Linked DNA regions of Homo sapiens: all the other regions are linked to region 1. The links are contacts of gene promoters, found by promoter capture Hi-C in blood cells and fetal thymus (Javierre and others, 2016). All regions are on one chromosome and are shown on one strand. The core of a region is centred on a gene start or on the middle of the fragment in contact, and the rest is flanking DNA. Distances in the headings are between cores, read along the strand shown.

Evidence for each region. The method cuts DNA at HindIII sites, captures the fragments that hold promoters and counts their contacts. A CHiCAGO score of 5 or more calls a contact.
Region 2: a contact is called between a fragment that was not itself captured here and the fragment with the promoter of CAPN11 in region 1, in 3 of 17 cell types (erythroblasts, M2 macrophages and M0 macrophages). The highest score is 6.7, in erythroblasts.
Region 3: a contact is called between a fragment that was not itself captured here and the fragment with the promoter of CAPN11 in region 1, in 2 of 17 cell types (M1 macrophages and total CD8 T cells). The highest score is 5.6, in M1 macrophages.
Region 4: the fragment with the promoter of RSPH9 here is called in contact with the fragment with the promoter of CAPN11 in region 1 in 2 of 17 cell types (M1 macrophages and activated CD4 T cells); the score reaches 7.3 in M1 macrophages.

Annotation. Positions count from the first base shown.
Region 1 is chr6:44,157,140-44,160,506 of GRCh38, reverse strand. CAPN11 (calpain 11) reads right to left here and starts at 1,687. Exons shown (of 23, transcript NM_007058.4): 1 at 1,643-1,687. The coding sequence starts at 1,658. LOC107986599 (a long non-coding RNA gene) reads left to right here and starts at 1,904. Exons shown (of 3, transcript XR_002956350.2): 1 at 1,904-1,922. RefSeq lists an enhancer at 341-510. The HindIII fragment of the contact is 9,288 bases long and covers 1-3,367 here.
Region 2 is chr6:43,591,317-43,594,683 of GRCh38, reverse strand. All of the region lies in intron 4 of POLH (DNA polymerase eta), which reads right to left. Among named protein-coding and RNA genes, the nearest start is that of POLH, 17 kb to the right of the region's middle. The HindIII fragment of the contact is 3,573 bases long and covers 1-3,367 here.
Region 3 is chr6:43,609,461-43,612,827 of GRCh38, reverse strand. It overlaps POLH (DNA polymerase eta), which reads right to left. Exons shown (of 11, transcript NM_006502.3): 10 at 2,105-2,274. Among named protein-coding and RNA genes, the nearest start is that of GTPBP2, 18 kb to the left of the region's middle. RefSeq lists a silencer at 642-867. The HindIII fragment of the contact is 4,533 bases long and covers 1-3,367 here.
Region 4 is chr6:43,643,339-43,646,705 of GRCh38, reverse strand. RSPH9 (radial spoke head component 9) reads right to left here and starts at 1,670. Exons shown (of 5, transcript NM_152732.5): 1 at 1,381-1,670. The coding sequence starts at 1,607. RefSeq lists a silencer at 2,063-2,251. The HindIII fragment of the contact is 7,744 bases long and covers 1-2,511 here.

The DNA.
Region 1 (3,367 bases), core at 438-2,937:
TAGCTGGGACTACAGGCGCCCGCCACCACGCCTGGCTTATTTTTTGTATTTTTAGTAGAGACAGGGTTTCACCGCGTTAGCCAAGATGGTCCCGATCTCCTGACTTCGTGATCTGCCCGCCACGGCCTCCCAAAGTGCTGGGATTACAGGCGTGAGCCACTGCGCCCGGCCAGATCGTTTTTAACTAAATCAGTTTTATTTTATTGACAAAAAAAGTATATATCTGTTGTATACGACATGGTGTTTTGAAATATGTATTCACTGTGGAATGGCTCAGTTGAGCTAATTAATATCTGCATTACTGCACATACTTGTTATTTGTTTGTGGTGAGAACACTTAAAATCTACTGTCAGTGATTTTCTTTTTTTTTTGAGATGGAGTCTCGCTGTGTCGCCCAGGCTTGGGGTGCGGTGGCACGATCTCGGCTCACTGCAACCTCCACTTGCTGGGTTCAAGAGATTCTCCTGCCTCAGCCTCCCGAGTAGCTGGGATTACAGGCGCCCGCCACCACGCATGGCTAATTTTTGTATTTTAGTAGAGACACGGTTTCACTATGTTGGCCAGGCTGGTCTCGAACTCCTGACCTCAGATGATCCACCTGCCTTGGCCTCCCAGAGTGCTAGGATTACAGGCGTGAACCACTGTGCCTGGCCTCTCTCAGTGATTTTCTAAATGCAATACATTGTTATTAGGGGACTATAGATTTAAGGACAGTTTGATTTCCGGCACTGGGAAAAAACTAAGATGTTGTGTCAGGGAACTTTAAAAAAAAATAAATACTAATAAGTAATAATAATAAATAAATAAATTATATTTTGAGATGAGGTCTTGCTATGCTGACCAGGCTGGTCTTGAACTCCTGGGCTCAGGGCACTTCTGAAGAACAAGGACTGGGTTTGGGGTCACCAGCTAGGCCTAAACTTCCTAGGGTCAGGTAAACAGGGAGGGCCTGAGAAGCTGGGAGGCTGGGTCTAGGGGCCCATGGTCTCACGGTGCCCCAGGCTGAGGGTGAGGTACAGGGCTGACCTTCTGCTGGCCAAGGCTGGCTGCCCTCTGTGCACCCTAGCCCCACAGGAACAACTCAGTTCTGCCCAGCCCTCCCCTTCCCCCCAGCCCACTCTCCCCCATCTCCTGGAGTCTGGTCCCAGGCTTGCCTCAGGTAGTCCTGCCCCTGCCACCCTGAGGATCTCATCTTCCTGGGCTGAGGGACCTGCTTTTCTAGGCTTAGGAGAGGTTCTCTCTGTTCCCTAAAGTTTTCTTCTCTACGTGGGCTTTTTCACACAAACCCTTTTCCCCAGCAGCCATGACAGTGGGATGGCCGGCCCCTCTCCTCTCCCCAACTCCAACTGTCAGTGGAGAGGAGAAAGAGTTCCTGCCCGGCCTACCACCCAGTCTGACCACCAGTGGCCTATCCTTCCCCAAACAGTCTGAGAACGAGGCCCAGGTCCTGTCCTTAGGGAGCATCCAGTCTGATGGAAGAGTCACTCTCTGTACCCTCAAGGGGCATCCAGTCTGATGGAAGAGTCACTCTCTGTACCCTCAAGGGGCACCCAGTCTGATGCGGGACACAGCTCCTCCCCTGGGGGGAGGCTCTAGCCTGCAGGAGGTACAGGAGTGGGGCAAGGCCCCATGAGTGCCTACCTGGGGAGTACAGCATGCTGGTGGCTAGCTCGGTGCTTGACAGTTGAAGGTTCTGGTGGGAGGGGGAGAAGAGACCCTCCCCCCAGAACTCTCTCATTGCAGTGGGATTCCTAGGTCAGCAGCCGGTTTAACAGCTGCCTTCCCTTTTCTCCTTCTCAGTAACCCAGCCCCTTACCCAGCTGAGGGCTACCCGCTTTAGGGACAGATGACCCAGCACCCCTGCCTTGCACAGCCTCCACCAGCCTGGCTGTCCTCACTGTATCACGGTCATCCCATCAGGGTAGGTCCCAGTCCCTTTTTTTCAGCCCAAGGTTTCCAGGAAGGGGTTGTCCCTGACACACCAACCTGACCTTTACATCCAGAAAGCCTTCTCATTCCCAAAAGCCCCTTTCTCACTGACATGGCATTTTTCCTGTGTTGCTGTCTTCACATGGCACCCTCCTCTGTGTCTCTTCTTCTTATAAGGACACCAGTCATATGGGGCTAGGGTCCCATGCATTTCAGTATGACCTCATCTTAATTGAACGAATTACATCTGCAACCACCCTGTTTCCAAATGAGGTCACATTCTGAAGTACTGGGGGCCAGGACTTCAACATGCCTTTTTGGGGGACACGATTCCACCTGCAACACTCTCCTTGCCTAGCCCCAGTCTGGCAAGGTTAGGCCACTGGTCTGACCACATGTCCTGCCTCTGCACTGGAAAGTGGGAATGCTTTGAGCTAAGAACTCTGCTCCAGAGTGCAGTCTTCTCTGGAGTGTATGATGGCTGAGGACAGGGACTGTCAAGGTCATCCCAGTGCCCCTCAGCCCTGCCTGGTGCTAATCAGGCACAGAACAGGTGTGAGAGCACCCAATGGGATCAGAGAACCTTGTTCCAAGCTCTGAAACAGGAGCTGACCTTGGGCGAGCCCTCCCCCTTTCTCCTTTCTGGGACTCAATCTCCTCATCTACGAGAATATTAATTATGGTTTGTTATTATGTGCCAAACACTGGGCTAAGAACTTCCTACTTATTTAATCCTTAAAACAGCCAGAGGCCATGACATTGCTATTCCCATTTTATAGATGAGGAAAGTGAGGTCTAGAGGTATGATGCAACTTGCCCAGGGTCACACAGCTGTTAAGCGGTCGAGCCAGGATTTAAACTAATAACTTCAGATTTTTTTTTTTTTTTTTTTTTTTGAGATGGAGTCTCGCTCTTTTGCCCAGGCTGGAGTGAAGTGGTGCAATCTCAGCTCACTGCAACCTCTGCCCCCCGGGTTCAAGCGATTCTCCTGCCTCAGCCTCTCAAGTAGCTGGGATTACAGGTGCCCACCACCATGCCCAGCTAATTTTTGTATTTTTAGTAGAGACGGGGTTTCGCCATGTTGGGCAGGCTGGTCTCGAACTCCTGACCTCAGGTGATCACTCGCTTCGGCCTCCCAAAGCGCTAGGATTATAGGCATAAGCCACCGTGCCCGGCCATAACTTTAGCTCTTATCCGTATCTTCTGCTGCCCCCAGCTGTGAAAGGAGGAAGTGGTCTTTGGGGATCCTGTGGTCTCCCCTGCCCACTCCTGATTCCACTATTGCACCTCTTGGATGCCTCTAATGTGATCTGCCTGGACATGAACTCTGTGACGAGGTGCCAGGGGTAGGGTGCAGGCAGGCACGGGTGTTCCTCTCTATTACAGCCTCCCACCCTGGGGGAGGGCTGTCCTCAGGACTCTTGCTCAGTGTGCTGC
Region 2 (3,367 bases), core at 451-2,950, 570 kb after region 1:
AGTTGCTCTGTTGCCCAGGCTAGAGTGCAGCTCACTGCAACCTCCACCTCCCAGGTTCAAGCAATTATCCTGCTTCAGCCTCCGGAGTAGCTGGGACTACAGCTGTGAACCTTCAGGCCCAGATAATTTTTGTATTTTTAGTAGAGATGGGGTTTCACCATGTTGGCCAGGCTGGTCTTGAACTCCTGACCTCAAGGGCTCCCAAAGTGCTGGGATTACAGGCGTGAGCCACTGTGCCCGGCCAAAAGGTAGTTTTTAAAAATAAAGTTCCTCAGCACAGTGGCTTGCGCATTTTTTGCTTTTTTTTTAATTATCTGTTTTCCTGAAATACCAAGGCTTGCACATATTAAGAACAATAAATACTATTAAAACATCCATCATTTAAAACAATTTATACTAGTATATATTAGCTTTGGGAAACAAAAATATGAATAATTTACTGTAATTGTATGACTTTCTGGACCTTTTTAAACAGTTAGAGCTAAATTTTCTCTGCTTTAGATTTTTTTCATCATTGCTTTCCCAGATTGGGTAATGTTGCAATCCTGTGGCAATGTAGATTTTTAAATTTAATCCTTTATCTGTATTAACTGAACGGGACCACAGAAGATAAGCAGAATTCCCTTATTTCCCTACAATGCTTTTTACCTTTTCTCTAGTTGATAAGAAAAATCTATAAAATTTTGGTTTTTCTTCAATACCATGAAATGGACTACAGGAAATACTTCAGGTAGTTCTGGTGTTAAATGCCCATGAAAGCTGAGAAAAAACTTTTCTTTCTTTCTTTTTTTTTTTTTTTTTTTTTGAGACGGAGTCTCACTCTGTTGCTAGGCTGGAGTACAGTGGCGCAATCTCAGCTCACTGCAACCTCTGCCTCCTGGGTTCAAGTAATTCTCCTGCCTTACCCTCCCGAAAAGCTAGGATTATAGGCATGCGCCACCACACCCAGCTAATTTTTGTATTTTTAGTAGAGACAGGGTCTCACCATGTTGGCCAGGATGGTCTCAATCTCATGACGTCATGATTCGCTCACCCTGGCCTCTCAAAGTGCTGGGATTACAGGCGTGAGCCACTGTGCCCAGCCAAGAGTTTTTCTTGTTGAATTATCTTGGCACCTTTGTGGAAATGAATTGCCACCACACACACCCCAGCCTGAAAAGTGGGGATCTACTTGTATACTTTCTATTCTATACCATTAATCTACGTATTTTCTCACACCAATACCAAACTTCCCTAGTTACAAATTTATAGTTAAATCTTGAAATCAGGTAGTATGTCTTCCAACTTAGTTCTTTTTCAAAGTTGTTTGGCTACTCCACATTCTTTGCATTTCCATACAAATTTTAGAATCAGTTTGTCAATTTCTGTGGGATTTTGGAAGGGACTGCAATGAATCTATACGTCAATTTGGGGAGAATTGAGCACTAGTAAGATTTAGTCTTTTGATACATGAGGATAGTATAATCTTTCCATTGAATTTTATAATCTTTAATAATAATTATATGATCATTATAAGATAAAGCCAGACACAGTGGCACATGCCGATAGTTCCAGCTACTTGGAAGCCTCAAGTGGGAGGATCACTTGAGCATGAGTTCACAGGTAACATGGGCAACACAGTGAGACCCCATCTCAAAAATAATCATTATAAAACTGTTTTGTAAGGCCAGGTGCAGTGGCTCACGCCTATAATCCTGGCACTTTGGGACGCTGAAGTGGGAAAATTGCTTGAGGCCAGGAACTCATCAAGACCAGCCCGGGCAACATAGTGAGACCATGTCTCTGTGTTTTAAAATAATAAAGAAATGAATTAAGAAAAAACAAAGGGAAAAGAAAAGGCCCTTAGCTAACAAACCAGTTACAAAATGGCAATGATGGGAAAGTTTCACCTTGACAATTTCTGAGAAGTACTTTAAGTAAATCTTACTACTTAAACTTTACACACAAATAACTATTTTAGAAAATACAAGGCCAGGCGTAGTGGCTGACGCCTGTAATCCCAGCACTTTGGGAGACCAAGGCGGGCAGATCACGAGGTCAGGAGATCGAGACCATGCTGGCTAACACGGTGAAACCCCGTCTCTACTAAAAAAAATACAAAAAAATTAGCCGGGCGTGGTGGCGGCCAACAGTAGTCCCAGCTACTCGGGAGGCTGAGGCAGGAGAATGGCGTGAACCCGGGAGGTGGAGATTGCAGTGAGCCGAGATTGCACCACTGCACTCCAGCCTGGGCGACAGAGCGAGAAAGAGACTCCCTCTCCAAAAAAAAAAAAAAAAAAGAAGATACAAAGCTGCAAATGCAGGAGGGCTGAGCATGATTGCTAGCTCTTATAGGAGGCAAGATGGAAAAGTTGATGGAAAGCTCAGTATCAAGGTATTACAAATACCTCGCCTCTTTTCTTAGATTTGAAATATATTGTATCCATGAAAAATGATTTCTGGAAGGTTATATCCACTTAGATCAGCTAATTTCTGTTATCAGGTTTTTGTGGTTGCACACATCAAAGATTCAGGAATATGATATGAAATATTTCCTAGACATTGCACTGTTCTGAACATTACATATAATAAGATGCTGGCACTGCATCTGGGAGCTTAATATTTAAGTTGGACACACTAATGCAACAGACACAAGACATACAGAAATAGACCTCTCTATAAACATGGGCATTTTTAATAAAAAAATGTACATAGGTAAGAAAAGTAAGTGTAGAAGAAAGAGGAACACGTCCATCTGAGTTAACATTCAACTACCAAGGAAGGTATATACCATCTTCAGCCAGAGATAATAGAATGCTTCAACAATGCTCTGCAGCAAAAACCAATATAATGTGTAAGACTAGTTCTAATTCTGAGGTATGTGGATTTCAGAGGGTTTGTGAATCTCCTGAAAACTGCATGCAAAATTGTCTTATGTATAGATACAAATTTTTCGGAGGCCAGCAAGGGTCTATAGCTTTCAACAAATTTTTAAGAGTATGTAATTCTCAAATAAACTTTAAAGAGCCACAAATTCAAGGCATTATAAAACCAATTCCAAATATTTAAAAAAAAAAAAAAAATCAGGCTGGGTGCGGTGGCTCATGCCTGTAATCCCAGCACTTTGGGAGGCCAAGGCAGATGGATAACTTGATGCCAGGAGTTTGAGACCAGCCTGACCAACATGGCGAAACCCCGTCTCTACTAAAAATACAAAACTTAGCCAGCATGGTGGCATATGCCTATAATCCCAGCTACTCAGGAGGTTGAGGCATGAGGATCACTTGAACCCTGGAGGTGGAGGCTGCAGTGTGCCAAGATCTCACAACTGCATTCCAGCCTGGGTGACACCAAAAAAATCAGTGTTGCATATGGAAACTAAAAAAAA
Region 3 (3,367 bases), core at 569-3,068, 550 kb after region 1:
TCCCTCTCAAAAAAAAAAAAAAAAAAATCAGAAATTTTTGTCATAAAGTTCCTCATTGTGTCTAATCACTCAAATTTTCACATAAGCTGAATTTCAGAAGATGAAATATGCTTTTATGTACAGATTAGTCCTTCAATGAGGTAAAGGGTAAATGTCATTTTAAAGTTATTATTACACTATTGGCCGGGTGCAGTGGCTCACGCCTGTAATCCCAGCACTTTGGGAGGCCGAGGTGGGTGAAACACCTGAGGTCAGGAATTTGAGACCAGCCTGGCCAACATGGAGAAACCCTGTCTCTACTAAAAGTACAAAATTTAGCCGGGCGTGGTGGCGGGCACCTGTAATCCCAGCTACTCAGGAGGCTGAGGCAGGAGAATCGCTTGAACCCGGGAGGCAGAGGTTGCAGTGAGCCGAGATTGCGTCACTGCACTCCAGCCTAGACAACAAGAGCGAGATTCCGTCTCAAAAAAAAAAAAAAAAAGTATCCCAATATCCTCAGGTTTCATGCTTTGGGACAGTCTTATAATCAGATAATTTTGATGCTTCCCTGTGCATCACGGAGTTTCACACCGTTGGTGAGTAGTATTTGTTATAGTTTGTCAATTTATAACTTTTCAAATAAGGTTTCATGTGTACATTAGTACCACGGTTGTTATTTGGTTTTGTAAAACTTCAATATTTGAAAATAAATATATCAGGAAGTATTAAGTAAATTATTCTCAGAACAAAGACTTTATTTATTTATTTATTTATTTGTTGTTGTTGTTGTTGGAGACGGAATTTCGCTCTTGTTGCCCAGGCTGGAGTGCAATGGCGCAATCTCGGCTCACCGCAACCTCCACCTCCCAGGTTCAAGCAATTCTCCTGCCTCAGCCTCCCAAGTAGCTGGGATTATAGGCATCCACCACCATGCCTGGCTAATTTTTGTATTTTTAGTAGAGACAGGGTTTCACCATGTTGGCTGGGGTGCTCTTGAACTCCTGACCTCAGGTGATCTGCCTGCCTCGGCCTCCGAAAGTGCTGGGATTACAGCCGTGAGCCACCGCGCCCGGCCCTATGAACAAAGACTAGGAGACTCCACCATATTATAGGTCTGTACACATAATTATACTGCCAATATATTTAGATAAGTAATAAGCGATTAACTAAACTTTGATTTTATTTTGTATAATATTCAATATACATCTGTAAGTGAGCAACTGACTTACCTCTCTCTCATAATTATATTTCTATTGTGAATTTGGAATACTTTAAAAAAAGTAAGGGCTTTATTAAATATGCAATTAAAGGATTCCAATCCTGAAAATCATTAATATCTGGACAGAAAATGAAGATGCTCCAAAAAGAGGCTTATATTTCATGACCAACAGAAGTGAAGTTTACTAATGAATATGACATTTGGTATAATACCAGTGGAGCTTGTAACTGAGTTGGGATGTCAGATAGAGAATATCAGTGAACACAGGTCACCTTTATAATCAAGAAATATGCTTTTAAGATAGAACAATCAAGTAGTTTGAAGTTCCCAAATGTATCCTTGAAATTTGAGCTCTGTTCTCCAAGTGCAACTGGTCATTTCCCTGACCAAGCCAATACAGAGTAAGGGTCTAACCTCCTGGGAACTGGAATGTATCAGCTGTCGGCAAAGGATCTGTGCTGAGCTGTCTTGTTTCTGAGGTTGGTACTGTATTTTCTCCCAGAGTAACAGGTACTGGTAGTCTGAGTCAGAGTCTATCCCAGATGGAAGAGCTCAGATTCCTACTACTTGTAGAGCTAAGACAGAGATTCCTACTACTTGTAGAACTGAGACAGACCTCAGGTGATTCACCCACCTTGGCCTCCCAAAGTGCTGGGATTACAGGCGTGAGCCACTGCGCCCGGCCGATACTTTAATAATAACTTTAAAATGACATTTACCCTTTACCTCATTGAAGGACTAATCTGTACATAAAAGCATATTTCATCTTCTGAAATTCAGCTCATGTGAAAATTTGAGTGATTAGACACAATGAGGAACTTTATGATAAAAATTATGTCTTGTAGAGCTAAGACAGAGCTAAGAATCATCATCTATTCTGAGAAGATGAGCTAGAAAAGAACTCACCATTCTGTCTGGATTCCAGAAGTATTACAGTTCTTGATGACAGTAAATGCATCATGGCTCATCTTGTGAGCATCATAGCGGGTAAGGGCACAGCAGCGGCGCAGGCTGCTGAGGCGTTTGTCTCCTTGTACACGAATGCTCACAACCAGCTGGGTGGCTACCCTGTCATTCTGTGGGTGGAAAGGATGGAGACCAGAAATAAAGTTATGAGGAGCATCTGAATTCTAGGTACTGAACTGCAGGAGAGGAAATTAAAAGAACCAGGGTGACAATGGTTTGGAAACAGTAGTTTAAAAGTCAAGAATAAAGGTAAACTGAGTTCTGCAAAGAGTAAAGATAAAATATAAAAAAGAGAAAGAGGCCAGGCATGGTGGCTCACGCCTGTAATCCCAGCACCTTGGGAGGCTGAGACAGGTGGATCACCTGAAGTCAGGAGTTCGAGACTAGCCTGGCAAACATGGCGAAATCCCATCTCTACTGAAAAATACAAAAAAACTAGCCAGTCGTGGTGGCAGGCACCTGTAATCCCAGCTACTCGGGAGGCTGAGACAGGAGAATTGCTTGAACCTGGGAGGCAGAGGTTGCAGTGAGCCAAGATGGTGCCACTGCACTCCAGCCTGGATGACAGAGCAAGACTCTGTCTCAAAAAAAAAAAAAAAAAAAAAAAGAATCTATATATATGCAACAGAATGCATTTTCTGAATAGAAATCTGATTACATGGTTCCACAAAAAAGTGTTAATGCTATTTCTGGGTGTAAAAAGTAACTGAAGAAGACATAATTTGGATTATGGAACATCGGAGTATCCTAGGATGTTTTGACAGATGATGGGAACAGGACAGCACAAATGAAAATGGGACTCCCCTAAATGTTTTTCATGGTGTCTAAGCAGGACAATTATAACAAATATCTACAATACTAGATACTATTTTGTGACTGAAGGAAGGTTTCAGGTAAGTAATTGTCTGAAAGCAAAGTGGAACTAGGCTTCAAGTCATATCTTTTTTTCTGCCCTGGGGCTCTTATGGTAAACAAACATTCGCCACCAATTCCAGAAGTTTCTACCAACACCTTTTTACAGCTTATCTAGAGAAGATACCATATAGTGAGCCTGCCTTGAGAGAGCAAGATCATGACTCACTTTTCAGTGAAGTCTGAAGCATCTGAATGCTGTAATCTCAGCAAACTGAGACATAATGGTCAAGAGGCAGAAATATAAGAAGGTGAAAATTCTACATAAGGGACCCCTATCAAAAGATGCTA
Region 4 (3,367 bases), core at 421-2,920, 510 kb after region 1:
AAGGCGTGAGCCACCACACCCTGCCTTTTTTTTTTTTTTTTGTAGTGATGAGGTCTTGCTATATTGCCCAGGCTGGCCGAATGGACTGCTTTGTAAGGTAGTAAGCTCCCCTTTAGTCAAAAAGAGGCTGGCCGGGCATGGTGGCTCACGCCTGTAATCCCAGCACTTTGGGAGGCCGAGGCGGGTGGATTACTTGAGGCCAGGAGTTCGAGACCAGCCTAACCAGCATAGTGAAACCCTGTCTCTATTAAAATTACAAAAATAATAAATAAATAAATAATTGCCAAGCGCGGTGGGTGATCCCAGCACTTTGGGAGGCTGAGGCGGACGGATCACGAGGTCAGGAGATCGAGACCATCCTAGCTAACACGGTGAAACCCCGTCTCTACTAAAAATACAAAAAAAAATTAACCGGGCATGGTGGCGGGCGCCTGTAGTCCCAGCCACTCGGGAGGCTGAGGGAGGAGAATGGCGTGAACCCAGGAGGCGGAGCTTGCAGTGAGCCGAGATCGAGCCACTGCACTCCAGCCTGGGCGACAGAGCGAGACTCCGTCTAAAATAATAATAATAATAATAATAAATAAATAGCCAGGTGTGGTGGCACGTGCCTGTAATCCCAGCTATTTGGGAGGCTGAGGCAGGAAAATCGCTTGAATCCGGGAGGCGGAGGTTGCAGTGAACCAAGATAGCGACACTGCACTCCAGCCTGGGTGACAGAGCAAGACTCTGCCTCAAAACAAAAATAAATAAATAAATAGCTGGATGGTCCTGTATGGTAGTGACCAGGGAATTTTCCCCAGCTCTCTCCCCATTCCGCATTCGTTCTCTATTTCCAAAAGCGCCTCCAGCTCCAGAGCAGATACCTCTATCAAAGAGCACCACCCTCTCCCTCTGGCGTCTGACTCTTCTCCAAACTGAGCCTTCTCCAAACTGAGCCAGGCCCAGCACTTGGCTGGAACCTGGCTTCTTCTCCAGGTCCGCATTTTCCAGAAACCTTCCCACTGCTTCACCTGCGTTCTTGGCCCTGTCTCTCTTATAAACCCATCCGCATGTAAGTTTCTCTTGGCCTCCTCAGGCGGAGAACAAGCTCTCGCAAGGCCCCGCCCTCCGGGGGACATCGCCCGTCCATTGCCCCGCCCTCTCAGGCTCCGCCCTAGCCTCAGATTCCGAGACATCCCCATCCCCGCCCTTTCCCTCAACCACCTCTTGACCGTCCCCAGGCCCGCCCCCCAGGGTCTCCCCCATTCCACTCATCTCAGATCCCGCCCACACCTCCCTTGGCCCCATGGGCCCCGCCCCTTTCAATTGCTGCGACCCGCCCACCCCGCCCTGCCTCCAGGTAGCCACCCTCTGGGGAGCCCGTCCCGGGGGCCTCCTCACCTATAGAGCGTCTTGCGCGGTGCGAGCTGGTCCTCACTCAGGCCCTGCGCGATGTAGTAATCGGCGACGAGGCCAAGGATGCGGCCCCAGAAGAGAACCCGATCATAGCGGTAGTCGCGCTTAACCAGCATAAGAGACGTGAGCAGCGAGGCCCGACGGTCCGGGCTGAGGCCCTGCCCACTGCCGGACGCCAGCTCCAGAGACAGCAGGAGGCTGTCGGCGTCCATCAGGTCAGCGGCTCCGCTCAACGCCCGTCGAGTTGCTAGGAGAAGCCGCCTCCATGGAGACCTGAAGCTCCGCCCTTCCGCCTAGCTGGACGCTAGGTTCCACCCACCCCACCGCCTACCGCCCAGACCTCCTCCCCACGGAGGCCTAGGCATCAGCCCCCTCCCTCATCCTTTCCAGAGTTTGGGACGGGATGTCTTCAGTTGCCACGGCCACAGTATGGCTTCCCCTACAGTTAGGCTACAGTTGGGGTTGTAAGTCCAAACCCAGCCTTTTTCCATAGATATTTGGCCTTCCCTGAGCCCTTTCACATAGTCGACATTTAGAGTCTTTACTGTATATGGACCTGGGGTCTGGAAAGAAAACAATACAAAACCCCAACACTGACACTAACTGTACTATTTCACCCCAGTCATGTCACTTCTTGACCTCAGAATGATCTGTGAAGAATTTGAGATTCCTCCTGGCTCTAATTAAGATTCTGTCAACCCGACTACCTCCACCCGCACCCCACCCCAAGCCAGGTCTTACAGAATGAGGTCCATCCATTCTCTTCCATCTTCACCAGCTGTCTTCTTTATCTACCCTTTCCATAGAAATATTCTAAGTGACAAATGAAAATCTAGGCAATGGGGGCAAGGTATAGGGTAACACCTTGGGAAAGGAGGGTGAGGAGAGAGATACAAAAAGGGGGACTTTTATAGACTACACTTTCTCATCAACTACCACCTTTCTCATCAACTACCAACTACCACCAACTGTTGTTTTTAGATCCAAATGGTAGCAAGAGATGAAAGGCCAGAACCTCACTGCAACTGGAGCTTCACTCCCTGGGCTAGATCACTTCTCCACATTCACTTCTTGAGTCCCCAGCCAAGGACAAACAAACAGGTTCCTCAGCAAGCTTGTTGCCACAGGAGATGGGCTTTATCGTTAATGTTGCTAGTTGATATTTTCATTTCTGGATTCCTTTGAAGAGCACTCAGGAAATCAGAATGACCTGGGCCCCAGCTGATAAATAAGTGTGTAAATAACCCAGATAATTACTTTTTTGATTGTCTGGGCATTGTTGGTTTTCGGGGGTTGAGACAGGGTCTCACTTTGTCACCCAGGCTGGAGTGTAGTGGTGTGTGATCTCAGCTCACTGCAGCCTCAACCTCCTGGGCTCAAGTGATCTTCCCACCTCAGCCCCCCAGGTAGCTGGGACTACAGGTGTGTGCCACCACACCCAATATTTTTTGTATTTTTAGTAGAGACGGGGTTTTGCCATGTTGGCCAGGCTGGTGTTGAACTCCGAGCTCAAGTGATCCACTCACCTGAGCCTCCCAAAGTGCTGGGATTACAGGTGTGAACCACCACGCCCAGGCTTAGGCATTGTTTAGGAAGGCATTGTTATGAGATCAGCCTGACCAACATGGTGAAACCCTGTCTCTACTAAAAATACAAAACAGCCGGGCTTGGTGGCCCACAGCTGTAATCCCAGCTACTCGGGAGGCTGGGGCAGGAGAATGGCTTGAACCTGGGAGGCAGAGATTGCAGTGAGCCAAGATCATGCTACCGCACTGCAGCCTGGGCAACAGAGCGAGCCTGTCTCAAAAAATACAACTAACTAACTAAATAAATAAATAAAATTAGTATTTGAGGGAGTTGATTTGGCTTAATGTGTTATCTCAAAACAATTTATGGCTCTCTTGTTCACAACCACCCCCACTCCCTTTAGGCAGACCTCTCAGCCTTTCCTTTCCCTGAGCGGGAGATACGG